3 separate regions of the Homo sapiens genome follow, and all the other regions are linked to region 2. Evidence: promoter capture Hi-C in human tissues and cell types (Jung and others, 2019). All regions are on one chromosome and are shown on one strand. The core of a region is centred on a gene start or on the middle of the fragment in contact, and the rest is flanking DNA. Distances in the headings are between cores, read along the strand shown. Region 1 has its middle 17 kb from the start of ZNF536-AS1. Region 2 holds the start of DPY19L3 (dpy-19 like C-mannosyltransferase 3). Region 3 holds the start of LOC124904794 (a long non-coding RNA gene).

Evidence for each region. The method cuts DNA at HindIII sites, captures the fragments that hold promoters and counts their contacts. A contact is called where the count stands out against the background at its distance.
Region 1: a contact is called between a fragment that was not itself captured here and the fragment with the promoter of DPY19L3 in region 2, in 1 of the 25 tissues and cell types used here (dorsolateral prefrontal cortex).
Region 3: a fragment that was not itself captured here is called in contact with the fragment with the promoter of DPY19L3 in region 2 in 1 of the 25 tissues and cell types used here (dorsolateral prefrontal cortex).

What each region holds. Positions count from the first base shown.
Region 1 is chr19:30,650,865-30,655,727 of GRCh38, forward strand. It overlaps a transcript of ZNF536 not described here. Among named protein-coding and RNA genes, the nearest start is that of ZNF536-AS1, 17 kb to the right of the region's middle. The HindIII fragment of the contact is 7,132 bases long and covers 1-4,863 here.
Region 2 is chr19:32,403,893-32,408,364 of GRCh38, forward strand. DPY19L3 (dpy-19 like C-mannosyltransferase 3) reads left to right here and starts at 1,878. Exons shown (of 19, transcript NM_001172774.2): 1 at 1,878-2,017; 2 at 4,325-4,464. The coding sequence starts at 4,362. It overlaps DPY19L3-DT (DPY19L3 divergent transcript), which reads right to left and starts at 1,647. Exons shown (of 3, transcript NR_046201.1): 1 at 1,099-1,647. RefSeq lists silencers at 1,430-1,479, 1,510-2,259. The HindIII fragment of the contact is 7,870 bases long and covers 1-4,472 here.
Region 3 is chr19:31,361,483-31,366,247 of GRCh38, forward strand. All of the region lies in intron 1 of TSHZ3-AS1 (TSHZ3 antisense RNA 1), which reads left to right. It overlaps LOC124904794 (a long non-coding RNA gene), which reads left to right and starts at 2,799. Exons shown (of 2, transcript XR_007067377.1): 1 at 2,799-4,765. The HindIII fragment of the contact is 4,270 bases long and covers 166-4,435 here.

The DNA.
Region 1 (4,863 bases), core at 83-2,582, 1.8 Mb before region 2:
GTTGGAGCATACTGTCAGAGCAGAAGCAAAGGAGAGAATGGAAGCATATAAATAGCATTGAGAACTCGAGAATATTTCAAGACAATATTGATGTCTAAAATATATGTGAATGACTGCATAATGATCGAGGCAGACATAATTCAAAGTACAGTCAGAATCTGGCCTCCAACTCAGAGCTTTAAATTCTCCAAAAGACATCTGTTTGCTGAGAAAGCCTCACCAACAGCTGCGCCACATAAAGGGGAGAACCCGGGATAAGGTTGGGAGTTGGCAGGTAGGGGAGCCTCAGAGGGGTTAGGTGGGGTCCTGGAGGGCGGGCGCCCACCTTCACTCCACAGGTACCGGAAGCGGGGCTGCTTTGGACAAAGGCGAGGGAGGTGCCTGTATTTCCTAGAACCAGGTAGCAAATGTTGCCTGTGTGTTTCATCAGAAAGCGCCCCAGTTGGGCACTGTGCCTCTTGGATGCTGACAAGAAGATTTGACGTTACTTCTCTGGTCCTTAACTTTGTTTACCCAGCTGCTATTCTTCCCATACTTAACTCTTTCACCGTGCAGAAAGCAAGGGGGAGGGAGGAAGGGAAGCTCCAGGTGTGATTTTTCAGAACAAAATATAATGCTGTGATTTATTTTTAAAAAAGAGAATAAGCACGAGGAAATTGAATAGCATCCATTTCATGCTTAACCGTGGTTCACAAATGATAGTTTGTAATTAAAATTCTGTCTGCAAACCTATTCTGCAGACCCCAAAAGAAAACTTCCTCAGAATGTTATCAACTCTCCAATTTCTGTAAAGATGCCATATTTTCAGATTTCAAAGAGAGGATCTCCTTTTGAAAATAAAGAATTGTTGGGTATCGTATGAGCCTGCTAAGTACAGCATTTTAAACCCACACTGTGTTGAAAAATTCAAGAATTTGGCAGTGACCTTAAGGCCACAGATAGGATAATGAAAAATGAGGCGATGAGGGCAGTGTCTAAAGGAACTACTCTTTTGTTCTAACAGAAGCTTTGTGTGTGTGTGGCTTAAGCAAGTGGTTCAATAGAATTTCTTTGAAACAGAAACAAAAATGCTAAGAGCTGGTTACAAGTACTCTGGTCTTCTTTTCTCCTTAAAATGCAGGAAGAATTTTTACCTCTTCTCATGAATCTTGTCTGCTGAAATGTCTCAGTCTTCATGTTATGTTTACCAAGGCCAGGCCAGAGGATCTGATAATTTATAACCATTCCTATTGGGTTTTATGTAATAACTTTGGAACTCATATAAAGTAATGATCCACAAACTCTTTTAATGTTCATTATAAAATATGAAATATTTCTCAGAACCATTGCAATTATGTGACCAGACATAACTGTTTCACACATGAGTAAATACAGGGAGGTTTAACATAACTTTATTATCTTGCTGTCTTTTCTTCTCATTGATGTGATAATACTGTTTTAATATTTTTCTAAAGAAAAGTTAAGTAATTTTAGAATCTCTACTGAGGCCCGCTTTATTGGCTTTTGTAATAGAACTCTCAAATCTAATTGTATTTATGCTCAGACTGACACCACTAAATGTCGTGAATGGAAGGGAAATGCCCCCCAAAGCTGTGTATTCTGTAATTATCGATAGATGTGTCTCTGCTGACGAGGCCTGGGGATCTGGGGAGAGTCACGCAAGTAAAGCTGAGATGGCAGCAGGCATTTCCACCGTCATCCTGAGGCCCCCATGGATGCAGAGAGGTGCTTTTCTAAGGAGTGAATGAGCCCCGTCATTCTGTAGGACTCACCAGGAAACTTTTCCCCCTTTACTGTGTGTGCTGTGTCTGCCTCTCCTGGGTCTGGAGTCAGTAGCATGCAACTTCTAGTTTCGTAGAAGGCTGATCTCCGAAGGGAATTTTCCTGGGCTTCCTGTCCTAGTGATCTGAGCTGAGTGGCATTGTTCCGGTTGCTTGACCTTCACCTGGGGCGTGGGCTTGGGGTCATCCCTGGTGGCTGTAAAGTCTCCTGCAGCGATGGAAGCCAGAGAGGGATTATTCTGGAAACCCACTTCTTACTCCCCGTGTGGGCAGTGGAAGCTGTAACACCAAGGCGGGGAACCCAGTGACAGTGCTGCATCCACTCTCGATGCCCCGTCAGAATCCAGGATCCTCCCAGGACCGAATGGCGGCTATTTCTAGCCTAGTAAGGTTGGGTGGAAAAGATTAAACATGAGGGAAGGTGCCGTTATCTGGGCATTTCCAAGTCCTGGAGAGGAGAGAGGGTTTCACCATGCTTGACTCTTTTATCTTACTTGTTTTTAGACAAGTGTTTCTCAAAGTCTCATGTGCAACCAGATCCCCATGGATCTTGCTATGATGCAGATTCTGACTCAGTAGTTCTGGGGAGGACCCTCTATCCTGCCCTTCAGCTCCAGGGTCATGGCTGTGCTGCTGATCCAGAGACCACACATTAGATCTGGGTGTAGCATCTGTCTTCTCACTGCACATCTGCTTTCGGGGAGACAAGCAGACACAGGGCATGGAAGGTTAGGTGGGGCCCTCTGAGAGGCCTATGAGTGCAATGAAACTTGAAGAGTGGCCTGATGGCTGGAGCCAGCTCACAGTTGGGTTTTGTTTGACTTGTCCGATATTACACTTTTGCTTTCAATTGGTTGCACACAGTTTAAAAATGAAAGATTTTTTAAATTTACAAATCCAGGCTTTCAGGTTCTCTTGAAAAACTAGAATGTCTGGGACAAGAGATAGAAGAGAGGTGGGATCCGCTCCCTTAGGAGCAGAGGATGGAAGAGAGGTGGGAGCCACTCCCTTAGGAGCAGGGGACGGAAGAGAGGTGGGAGCCGCTCCCTTAGGAGCAGGTGATGGAAGAGAGGTGGGAGTCACTTCCTTAGGGAGGTGTGGCTCTTCCCTTCTCCGCCAAGGGGTCCCGCCCAGCCTGCCTTGCTCATAACACAAGAGTTTGCAGACAGGGAAGTTAGACCCCAGGAAAAGAGGGTCACTTCCCTGGCACACACAGGGCATGTGCAATGGTGGAGGCTGCGTGCCCCCCTGCTGCTGGCTCTTGTCTGGAGTTTGCTGGAATGGAGAACTCTTGCCCCATCAGAACCCAGGACTCACCTGCGTGCTTTAGCTCTGCCTTCTGGCAAGTGCCATCTTCCTCTTTGAGGAGCTGTTCCTTAGCTCTCTAGTTCTCACAAGCAAGCCACTAGAGAGGGTGCAATTCCCAGCTAATTAAAGGTCTTGAGATCCTCCCCTCCCTGTCGCCGACGCTCCTTTGAAACAAGCGGGCTGCATAAGAAGTCTCCCTGGCTGCTACCTGGCAGCAGGTGTGAGCCAAGGGCTGGTGCCCAGGCTGCGTGGGGCCCAGTGGGGAGGGAGCCTGACCTTCACCTAGGTACATCCAACAGGTGTGACCGCCCGGCATAGTAATCACCCAGTTCCTAGGTGGGCAGTATTGGGGATCATCACAAAATCTGGAATGTTCATTAGTGCATGAAATCATCTGATCATCTTCCCACTTGGCCCTCTTCACTCCTCACCACCCCCCTTATTCACCCCTCACCACCCCCCTTATTCACCCCATCCCCAGTCTCTCCTGGAAACTGGTGGGTTGCATTGGAGTCAGATGTGGCAAAACACAGCCTAAGTCAACATTCGTGGTTCCTAAAGCGAAAGAACTGTGGAATGCTTGTATTCAAAGATTTCTCCATGACTGCACCTGGTTGAGTGATGAAATAAAGGTGAAACCAAAAAGACCTTTCTGCTTCCCTGGGCGGTGGCTATCTAGGTCTTTAGTTCTTTTAACCGGGCGATTGTTGCTGTAATGGGTCTCAGTGCTACTGGGGCACTGACTGAGGCTTGTTTTTTTTCTCCATGAAGACCAGGAACCCAGTGCCCTGGAAGGCTGGTGGCTTAGGTAAATTTGAGGGCTGGGCTTGAGCCAGGCTCTGCTGAGCTCTACACTTCAGCTGTGTCTGCCACCCACCCCCCACACACCCCCCCATGCTGGGCAAAGCCACCGTGCTTACAGCGTTGACTTTCTTTATCCCCAAGCAGCATTCAGGGCTAACTTTTCAGAAATTTTTATTTCTGAATGCTGGTTAAAGGCAGGATCTTCTGCTGCCAAATTTCTCAAGCTGTCACCTGCACAGTGAACAAGTGAGGAGTGGCCTGAGGCACCTGGCTGTGCTCCTACAACGAAGCACTCTGTTCTTAGGGACTTTAGTACTGGGTACATCTAGGGAGTTAGGAGGACTCACAGGACACTCAGATTGACAGCTCTCAGCATTTGGCTGCTGGTTAAATAAATCTCACATGAGTTAAAATTTCTACATGTTCTCCCATTTACAAGACAGAGTAAAATCAGCACTTAATGGGTCTTGTAGAGTATTGCAATGACAGACTGCATAGGGGTAGCCGGGTGACTGCAAGAGCTTCCTGCTCTCTTCATCATCTTCTCAGAGAGCTTTGCTCATTTCTGTTTTTGAATGTGAATAAAAGAATCTATTACATATTACATTCAGAGAAAATGGTACGTGGTACCCAATTGTGGCCACATGCAAGGGGAATGCCATACTGAGAACCCAGCATGCTGATTGGTATAGGGAGCTGGAAGTCATTGAATGGGGAAGGGCTGGAAGAAACTGAGGGTGAACTCAGCCCTCACTTCAAAGGAGTTTGCCGTCAACTCAGAGAAATGGAGCTAAACCATGCAAGCTGCATTGCTACCCAAGACATGGGTGGGAAGGGAATGAGGTTGGGGAATAGGGCAGAATTGAGCTGGGCCTGCAAAGATGGGGAGGGTTTGGCTAAAACCTAGGATTTTACAGATTTATCCAAGGGAGGAATCTAGCAATGATCTCCTTTTGCTCTTTAGTGTCTT
Region 2 (4,472 bases), core at 628-3,127:
CTTCATCTTGCTTAGGAATGTCTTTTCATAGTATTAAAAAAAGCAGCTACTGCTGAATTCTACTTTCTTTTTAACTAAGCGATGATATTTCACAATGGTCACATTTCCCCCAGAGTGAAACAACTTGAGAGAAAAAAAAAAACCTATAAAATAAGAGGGAAATCCTATTTAAGGGGAACTCAATTCACCTATGTATTCATGAAACAGACACATGCACATAAAGGCATCTTAACGTGAAAAATAAACATACAGTCCTTGCCCTCAAGCCAGGCGACAGAAAAGCTACCAACAACCAGGCTGAAACAAGACAAATGCCATCTGAAAAAACAGCTGACATTTGTTTCTATCAAAGCCATCCAGCAGATACCTCAACATCTTTCCACAGAACGTGTGCTCTTTACTAACAACCGACACACAAAGGAGGACGATCTCCAACAGAGGTGACTAGGAAAGGCTTCCTGGATGGCGTAATTTAGTGTTGGAGTCAGACCAATGAGCCGCCTTTTCACGGGTGGAGGTCCCAGATGGCCATCCCTTTAACAAAAATCAATTAACATGTAAATTATGTACTGACAAATACAACGTTTGATGGGCCCGCTGCAGTGGCTAAAGCCTGTAATCCCAACATTTTGAGAAGCTGAGGCAGGAGGCCTGCTTGAACTCAGGAGTTTTAGACCAGACTGGTCAACACAACGAGACCCCATCACTATAAAAATTAAAATGAATCTCAGCTACTCAGGAGGCTGAGGAAGCAGGGTCACTTGGGCACAGGGGACTAAGGTTGCAGTGAGCTACGATCACACCACTGCACTCCAGCCTGGACGACAAAGCAAGACCCCCATCTCTACGAAAAATTTAAAAATTAGCTGGGCATAGTAGTGCGAGCCTGTGGTCCCAGCTACTCCGGAGGCTGAGGCGGGAGGATCGCTTGCGCCCAGGAGGCCGAGGTTGCAGTGAGCCGTGATAGCACCACTGCACTCCAGCCTGGGCGACAGACTGAGAGCCTCACCTGTAAAAAATAATTTTAAAAAAGGTTCCACCTAGTGTTTTCCGTGGTGTGACTAAGAAAAGTATCTAGAAATAAAGCACAGTCAGTACCTGCTCTCAAAAAACGGCTGCCAATCTAGTTTGGAGACAGAAAAATATACCCGACTGAGAACACAGAGGAGCCTGTTTTCGGAAGAGGGGCGTCTTTGGAGACGCAAAATCCTCTCCGCGGGACGCTGACGGGCAGTCGGTAAAGGACTTCCAAGCACTGGTCAGTGACAATCGGGCGCTGGGGCTTTGCCAAGGCCCGGAGGCGGCGCGCCAAACCGGGCAATGCGGGAAGCGGGGCAGGCCCGAGTGGCCCTACTGCTGCCGTCCCTACTGATCCCTGCGCATCCGCCACAGAGCAGGGAACGGCAGAAAGGAGGAAGGAGGGGGAGTTCCGTAAATCAGGCCCTCAGGGGCTCCCAGGCCCGCACCCCTCTCAAGCCCCGGGGACCACCGCGGAGCCGCTGCTCCGGGCCGTGCGGCTCGAGGCGAACCTGCCTCAGAGCCGCCGGGCCCTCCTATCCCGAGCCGTATCTCTAGCTCCGGCCTGAGGTGGCCGGCGACTGCGTGCGCAAACACAAGATCCGCACCCCACTCCCCGCCACTGCAGCTCCGCGGCCGCGCTCAGAGTCTCCGGAACAGACCGGACTCAATGCGGACCAGGCAAGCGGAAGTGTGCCGCTTCCTTCCGGCCAGCGCAGCACGAGACGAGGCGGGGAACCGCGGGAGGAGGCGGGGCCTAGTGTTGACGAACAGCTCCCGGGGCCTATGGGCGCGGGGGCAGCCGCCCGGCCTCTCCGGCGCGCCCCCTCCCCGGGGCTGTTGACGCCCCCCAGCCCCTCATTTCCACAAAGCTCCGCGGCGGTTCTGCCCTCCTTGTACCCGCGGCGCGCTGCGGCCCGTGGCGCGGCCCCGTTCCCGCCTAGCCCCGTCGGCCTCCTTCCCCTCCCGGAGCCGCGCGTGAGGACGGCTGAGGCCGCAGGTCTGTGGCGGCGCGCCGGGACGCGCGGGCGAGGGTCTACCGAGAGGGCGGGCGGGCGCCGGCGGAACCCTCGGCTACAGCCCCGAGCCCCTGGGGCCGCCCCTCCCCGCCGCGTGGCGCAGTCGGGGGGCGCGGCCGCGGCGTCGGGGCGTCGGGAGGGGCGGAGCGCGGGAGTGTCTGCCGGGACGCGGGCCGGGCTGGGCTCCGGAAGGACCAAGTTTGCGGAGCGGCTTCTGCTCGTCGGCCGTGCGGCGAGGCAGGGCCTGGGCTGCGACCCCGGCGGCCGCTCGCGGTCTTGGGAGAGCTGGGGCGCGTGCCTGAACTTCCCGGCTGCCCCTGTCCTTGGAGACCTACCTGATGGGGACGCCAGGTGTGCAGGGGCGTGGCGCGTAGGTAAGCGGACCCGGTGCCTGCCTCGTCCAGGGGATGCTCACTAGAGCGCTAGGCTTTTTTATTTTTATTTTTTAGAGACAGGGGTCTCGCTGTCTCGCCCAGGCTGGAGTGCAGTGGCGTTATCACGGCTCACTGCAACCTCGAACTCTTGGGCTCAAGCGATTCTCCCACCTCAGCCTCTGGAGTAGCTGGGACCACAGGCATGCACCACCGAGCCTGGCTATTTTATTGTATAGATAGGGTCTCGCTCTGTTCCCCAGGCTGGTCTCAAACTCATGGTCTGAAGTCATCCTCCTGCCTCAACCTCCCAAAGCGCTGGGATTACATGAGCCGCCTCGCCCGGCTAGCGCTAGTCGTCCTTATTAATAAAGAATCGCTTCTGGTCCCTTTTCAGTTGTTTACAATGGCATTCCTTTTGATCTGATGGAGGAACTTTTTTTCTTAGTTCATGGGACTGTTGCAGTGCCTGACACATAATTGGTACTTAAATATGTGTTGGTTTTCTGCCTTAACATATTAGAATATATGAATTGTTTAAAAAAGTCCTCTCACACTTAGGGAGGACTCTAGGATGAGGTCACATGGGGGATAAGCCCATCTGTGGCTGTAGGACTTTGTTAAACACTCCTCTTCTCCCTCTCTGTTCCAGATTCTCCATTTCCAGTGCTTGAAAGCACAGTACTTAAATCTGGCTTCCTGCTTTTTTTTTTTTTTTTGGTATGAATGAATACATGAATTGTATAATGTTAGTTGGTTTGTTCTGTAGAGCAAGTTACCCTTAGGAATTAATAAACTGTGGAAACAATCATGTCAGGCTACTAGTCACATTTAAGAAATAATTAGTAAGAGGCTGTTCATTATTCAGAGGAGTGAAGCAAGATGTTCTGGAGGACTGGAACCCGCTTACTCACTGCCACCACTCCCCCGCCTCCCACTTGCTGCTGCCAAACCAGGCTCCTGCTCCCCCCCACCCATTACTCCCACCGACGCTCCCTGGGATAGCAGCTGCCCTGATTGGCACACCCCCGCAGTCATCACCACTGAGGCGTATTCCTGAAGCTGCCAGTGTGAATTGTTTTATAGAACACTGGTGTTAAAATTCAGGTACCTGAGACAAAACAATATTTTAATTCTTCAAAATCCGGTTGTCAACACATTTACTATGGAGTATCTCCCACGTGGCCACTTCTGTGGGAGGTACTGAAGACCTACTACCGCCTATGGAAGTAGAAAATAATATACAACTGTGTAGTTACGTGACGCATTGCGTGGTAACTGCTATGGCTCAGGGAGGGAGAAGATCAGCCGGAACTGGAATGTCCCAAGATGTTCTGGAAGAAAAGCAGTGGCTCGTTTGTGTTGCTTACCTGTATTCCTGACTCCTGGCAGGGCCTGCTGTAGAGCACATGCTTCATGAATAAATATGATTGAGTTGAATAAATATTTGAATTGTGTTTTGAGTGTAGCTTTGAAGGCCAGCAACGATTTAGATGGCAAGATCGAGGGCAGGCTGGGCACAATGGCTCATTCATGTAATCCTAGCACTTTGGGAGTCCAAGGCGGGGAGGATCGCATGAGGCCAGGAGTTCAGTACCAGCCTGGGCAAGATAGGGAGACCCCATCTTTACAAAAAATAATTAGCCAGGTGTAGTAGCACATGCCTGTAGTCCAGATACTCGGGAGGCTGAGGTGGATCACCTGAGCCTGTGGAAGTAGAGGCTACAGTGAGCCGTGATGGTGCCGCTGCACTCCAGCCTGAGTGACAGTGAGACCCTGTCTTGGGGGGAAGAAAAAAAAAGGGAGGGCATGCTAATAGAGGGAAAATGGCATAAGTAAAGGCATTTCAGCATGGATGAGCACGGGGTGTGTTGGGGAGAAGGCACTGACGTTGATGGCCTGTTTATTGCTATCTAGGAGTGATTTGGAGAACAATGCATGTAAGTCTGACATCATGATGTCCATCCGGCAAAGAAGAGAAATAAGAGCCACAGAAGTTTCTGAAGACTTTCCAGCCCAAGAAGAAAATGTGAAGTTGGAAAATAAATTGCCATCTGGTAGGTGA
Region 3 (4,765 bases), core at 1,051-3,550, 1.0 Mb before region 2:
AGGCATTGGGTTGTGGTCTGCTATGTTTCTTGCTCTGATGACTGAGTTTTTAAGATAAAGGCTCTCCGGGCAAATAAGGAACAGTTGGATAGAGTAGCTCACCTTAAGTCTCTATAGACTCATGTAGAGAACAAATCTGATCTAAACTGTGTAAAAAAATGAGTAAGAGAACTCTATAAGATTAACACTCTTATTAAACTTAAAAGAGAAAATTGGTACTTTTTTTTTTTTTCTTAGACAGAGACTTGCTCTGCTGCTCAGGGTGAAGCACAGTGGCACAATGTCGGCTCACTGCACTCACCTCTGCCTCCTGGGTTCAAGCGTTTCTTCTGCCTCAGCTTCCCGAATAGCTGGGATTGCAGGCATGCACCACCACACCCAGCTAATTTTTGTACTTTTAGTACAGACAGGGTTTCAACAGGTTGGCCAGGATGGTCTCGAACTCCTAACTTCAAGTGATCCACCTGCCTCAGCTTCCCAAAGTTCTGGGATTACAGGGCACCAAAAATTGGCACTTTTAAAAGGAGACAAGTTTTACTTAAAAGCAAAAGCCTTTAACAGGCCTTTGGCTGGATTAAATGATAATGAAGCGAAGCAAAGCTTGTGACCACTCTGTAGAGCCATCCAGATAGTCTCTCTTTGGGGCCAGATCCTCTAGAATGCATGATTTAGGGTCATTCATTGCACATTCCTGGCTTCAGACTGGTTTTCTGAATTTCCCTGCAATCTGATTTTTGTCTTCCTACATTTCTGTGTGTGAGATACATCAAAAGGTAAAAGAATGTGTGAATCATATAGGTACGGTTTAAATAATACCTGCATACACAACACTCAGTCACCTGAAACCCCCCGACACCTCCCAATTCCAGTCCCCTCTCCTGGAGGCCACCTCTATTTTTAATTTTTGTAATGATCACTTCCTTGCCTTACTTTGTAGTTTTAATATTTAGATGTGTATACCTGGTCATGTTCATAAATGAAATCATGTTGTATGAATTATTTTGTGTCTTGTTTCTCTTACTCAGCATTGTTTTTCGGACTTAACCATGTGGATTTGTGTTGCTGGTTCATGGTCAAGGTTCTAGACTATGAAAACATTAGTTTCATGAAAACATTAGGATTTTTTCCCCCCAATTGTTTGGATATCATGAAGAATGCCGCTGCGAACATGTTTGTTCCTATGCCATAACTCACATGGGGAATATCTCCTATTTATATATAGTTAGGGGTGGGATTGCTTGGTCAGAGTTTGCATATCTGCAGCTCTAACTGTTTTCCAAGATGATTGTGTCAATTTTCACTCCCACAAGCAGTTTTTAAAGTTCCCATTGTTCTACATCCTTGCCAGCCTATGATATTGTTAGCAATGTTTCTTCGTATTTGTAATGTTTCCTAATCTAGCGGCTGTGGTTGCTGTCTCACTGTGTTTAATTTGCATTTCCATGATTACTAATGAGTTTGAGCACCTTTTTTATATCTGCGTGGTGATCGGGAATGCCTTATTTGTGAGATGCCTGTTCAAGTCCTGCCATTATCCGTTGCATATATGTTTCACATTATTTCACCCAAGTTCTCTGTTGCCCAGGTTTGTTTCAGATTGGTTTGGGACAGTGGATCAGATCAGAAATGTTTCAGTGACATCTCTCACTATATTTCCTAGGATGCTTTTATCTGTGAGAAATACGACCCCCTGCTCACACTGGCTTAAGGAAATTGGCAAGAGGTAGATTATGGCTCCATTATATTAACAGGAAGCCAGTTTGCTCTGCCTTCTTACTCTTCGCTTCGTTTTCGGCATAATCTCATCCTCAAGGTGTTTTATCTTATGATTTCAAGAGGACCACAAATGGCGAGTGGAACTAATTGCTTCTTTGTCCACATTCCACAAGGAAGAGAATAATAGAAAACTTTTCATTGACCCATGTAATCTAAGTCATACCCTTCAGTTTCCAGGGGCCACGTCCATGAAGCAGGAGGCATCTGCAGTGAATGCCATGCCCTGACGCCTTACTGAGCACTCCTAGTAGGACAAAATGAGTACTGTATGGGGAGGAGGCAACCTCAAACAACCACCATGCTTACTGCCAAGCCTATAGGATATTTTTAAATTCATTTTTTAATTTGCATATAATAAAATGCATTTTTTTGGGATGCAGTTTTCTGAGTTTTGCCAAATGCACAAAATCACATAACTACCACTGCCATCAAGATTTGGAACAGTGGCTAGGTGTGGTGGTGGCTTACACCTGTAATCCCAGCACATTGGGAGGCTGAGGCAGGAGCATCGCTTGAGCCCAGGACTTCAAGATCAGCTTGAGCAACATAGTGAGACCCCATCTTTACAAAAAACTTTTTAAAAATTAGCTGGGCATGGTGGCATGTGCCTGTAGCCCCAGCTACTTGGAAGGCTAAGGCAGGAGGATCACTTGAACCTGGGAGGTTGAGGCTGCAGTGTGCTGTGATTGCACCGCTGTACTCCAGCCTGGGTGACAGAGGAAAACCCCATCTCAAAAATTTTTTTTAAAAGATTTAGAGTCGTTTTCTTTTTTTTCTTTTTTTTTTTTGGACAGAGTTTGGCTCTTGTCGCCGGGGCTGGAATGCAATAGTACAATCTTGGCTCACTGCAACCTCCACCTCCCAGGTTCAAGTGATTCTTCTGCCTCAGCCTCCCGAGTGGCTGGGACTACAGGTGCCCAGCACCACACCTGGCTTTTTTTTTTTTTTTTTTTTTTTTTTTTTTTTTTTTTTTTAGTAGAGGCAGGGTTTCACCATGTTGACAGGCTGGTCTCGAACTCCTAACCTCAGGTGATCCACCCTTTTTGACCTCCCAAAGTGCTGTGATTATAGGCATGAGCCACCGTGCCTGGCCTAGAATAGTTTTCTTACTCCCCCAAAACTGCTTTATGCTGCCTTTTTGTAGTCAAACTATCTGCCTGCCCTTAACCCCAGCTCCCCCGCATTAGAAACCACTGAACCTCTGATCTGTTCTTCACCTTAAAGCTTTCCCTTTTCCAGGGTGTAGCGTATGTGGAATTATAGAGTATGTCACCTTTCAAGTCTGGCTTCTTTCATCTAGTGTAATGCATTTGAGATTTATCTATGTTGTCGGATGTATCAGTAAGTTTGTGTCTTAGCAGTGCTGAGAAGTATTCCTTTGCATGGATGTACCCAGATCTGTTTATCCATTCATCAGTTAGAGGACAACTGGGTTGTTTCCAGTTTGGGGTGATTACAAATAAAGCCACGATGTACAAGCACCTCTAGGTTTTGGGTGAACATAAGTTTTCATTTCTCTTAAGTTTCAATACCTAGGAGAATGATTGCTAGGTCAATGGTAAGAGCGTGTATAATGCTACAAGAAAGTGCTAAACTGTTTTCCAAAGTGAGTGTAGCATTTTGTATCCCCGCTAGCAATGAAATGAGAGCTCCGCTTGCTCTGTAAGAGGCATTAGTGAATATGAAAGTGCTTTGTAAAGACTAAGGGTGTCTCACAGTGTGCCCAGGCGGGAGGATTCAGAGGGGGCATTTCTAAACTCTAAACTCCTGTGGGCTCCTAGCCCATCCTTCTGAATGGGGACAGAATACTTCCATTTCCAGGTTACTTGCTTCTCCAAAAGGGAGACAGGGAAGTATCCTTCTCTTTTTGCAAATGAGGGCACAGCACTGCCTCTCGTGGTTGAGCCAGTCATTATTCAGTAGGAACAGCAGTGAGATTCTCCAGCCTTCTATTTTATTCCTGGGGTCACAGAGTAAAATGCAGCGTGATCATTTGGAGCATTCTTATGCTTTGTGACAAGAACAAAGCCAGTGGAAACAGCCATGTGTCCAATCAGAATGTCAGAGCTGGCAGGGACCTTAGCAATTGTCACTTTACAGATGATAACCTATTACATCCCCAGGTCCCCAGAATCCCAGCCCAGGACTCACTCCCTCAGCCTTCCTGGATTGTCCTGGGTGGAACAAGATCAGCTCATTTAGCACATAGTCTTCCAGAACACAAGGCAGTGTCCCACCAAGGTTGGATGGGACCAGCTTCTCTATCCACAGTAGCTGTGCACACAGAGACAGAAATGAAGCCGTACTGCCGGGTGCACCGTGGCCAGAGATCCTCCTTCCTGGTATATACTCCCGGAGCCATTGCTTCTTTCATTTCAGTGCCCATTTCTGAGGCACCTTCACATTTCAAACGTCCTGAGAATATGTTTAATTAGAACTTGGCCATACAGCCTTTTAAAACAAAACAGAAGGGACCAGCTAATTATATCACTCAGCATTCTGTGGCAAACATATATTTTTTAATAAAACACTTTCCTAACCAGAGTAATCCCTGGAGATGCAAATCCTCATTTATAAGAAGTTTCCCAAAGGGAGTTAAAGAGAAGATGCCTTATAAAGAAAAGAGACAAAGAGAGTGGGGAAGTGTTTTCAAAGAGCTTTTAAAAGATACACTCATTCTGAGGTTGAATTACAGATATTTTAAGGGTACCAAATTTTATTTCAGATGTAATCCTTTCCTGTGTTTTTGATCATGTATTTCCGTTTTTTCCCTTTTTGATCATTGCCACAAATGCCCATATTTCTCTTTCTGGTGTCTTTCATAAGTGCAATATTTAAATAAACAAGGGATTTTCCCAAAATGCACCTCATCTCCTACTCTTTGTCATTTCCTTGTCTTGCTCTGTAAATAACCGTGTGTCTCACAGCAGAGCTTACACAGAATGGATGTGGGGCAGTCTGTGGTCCTGGGGAGGGCCTTCCCTGTAAT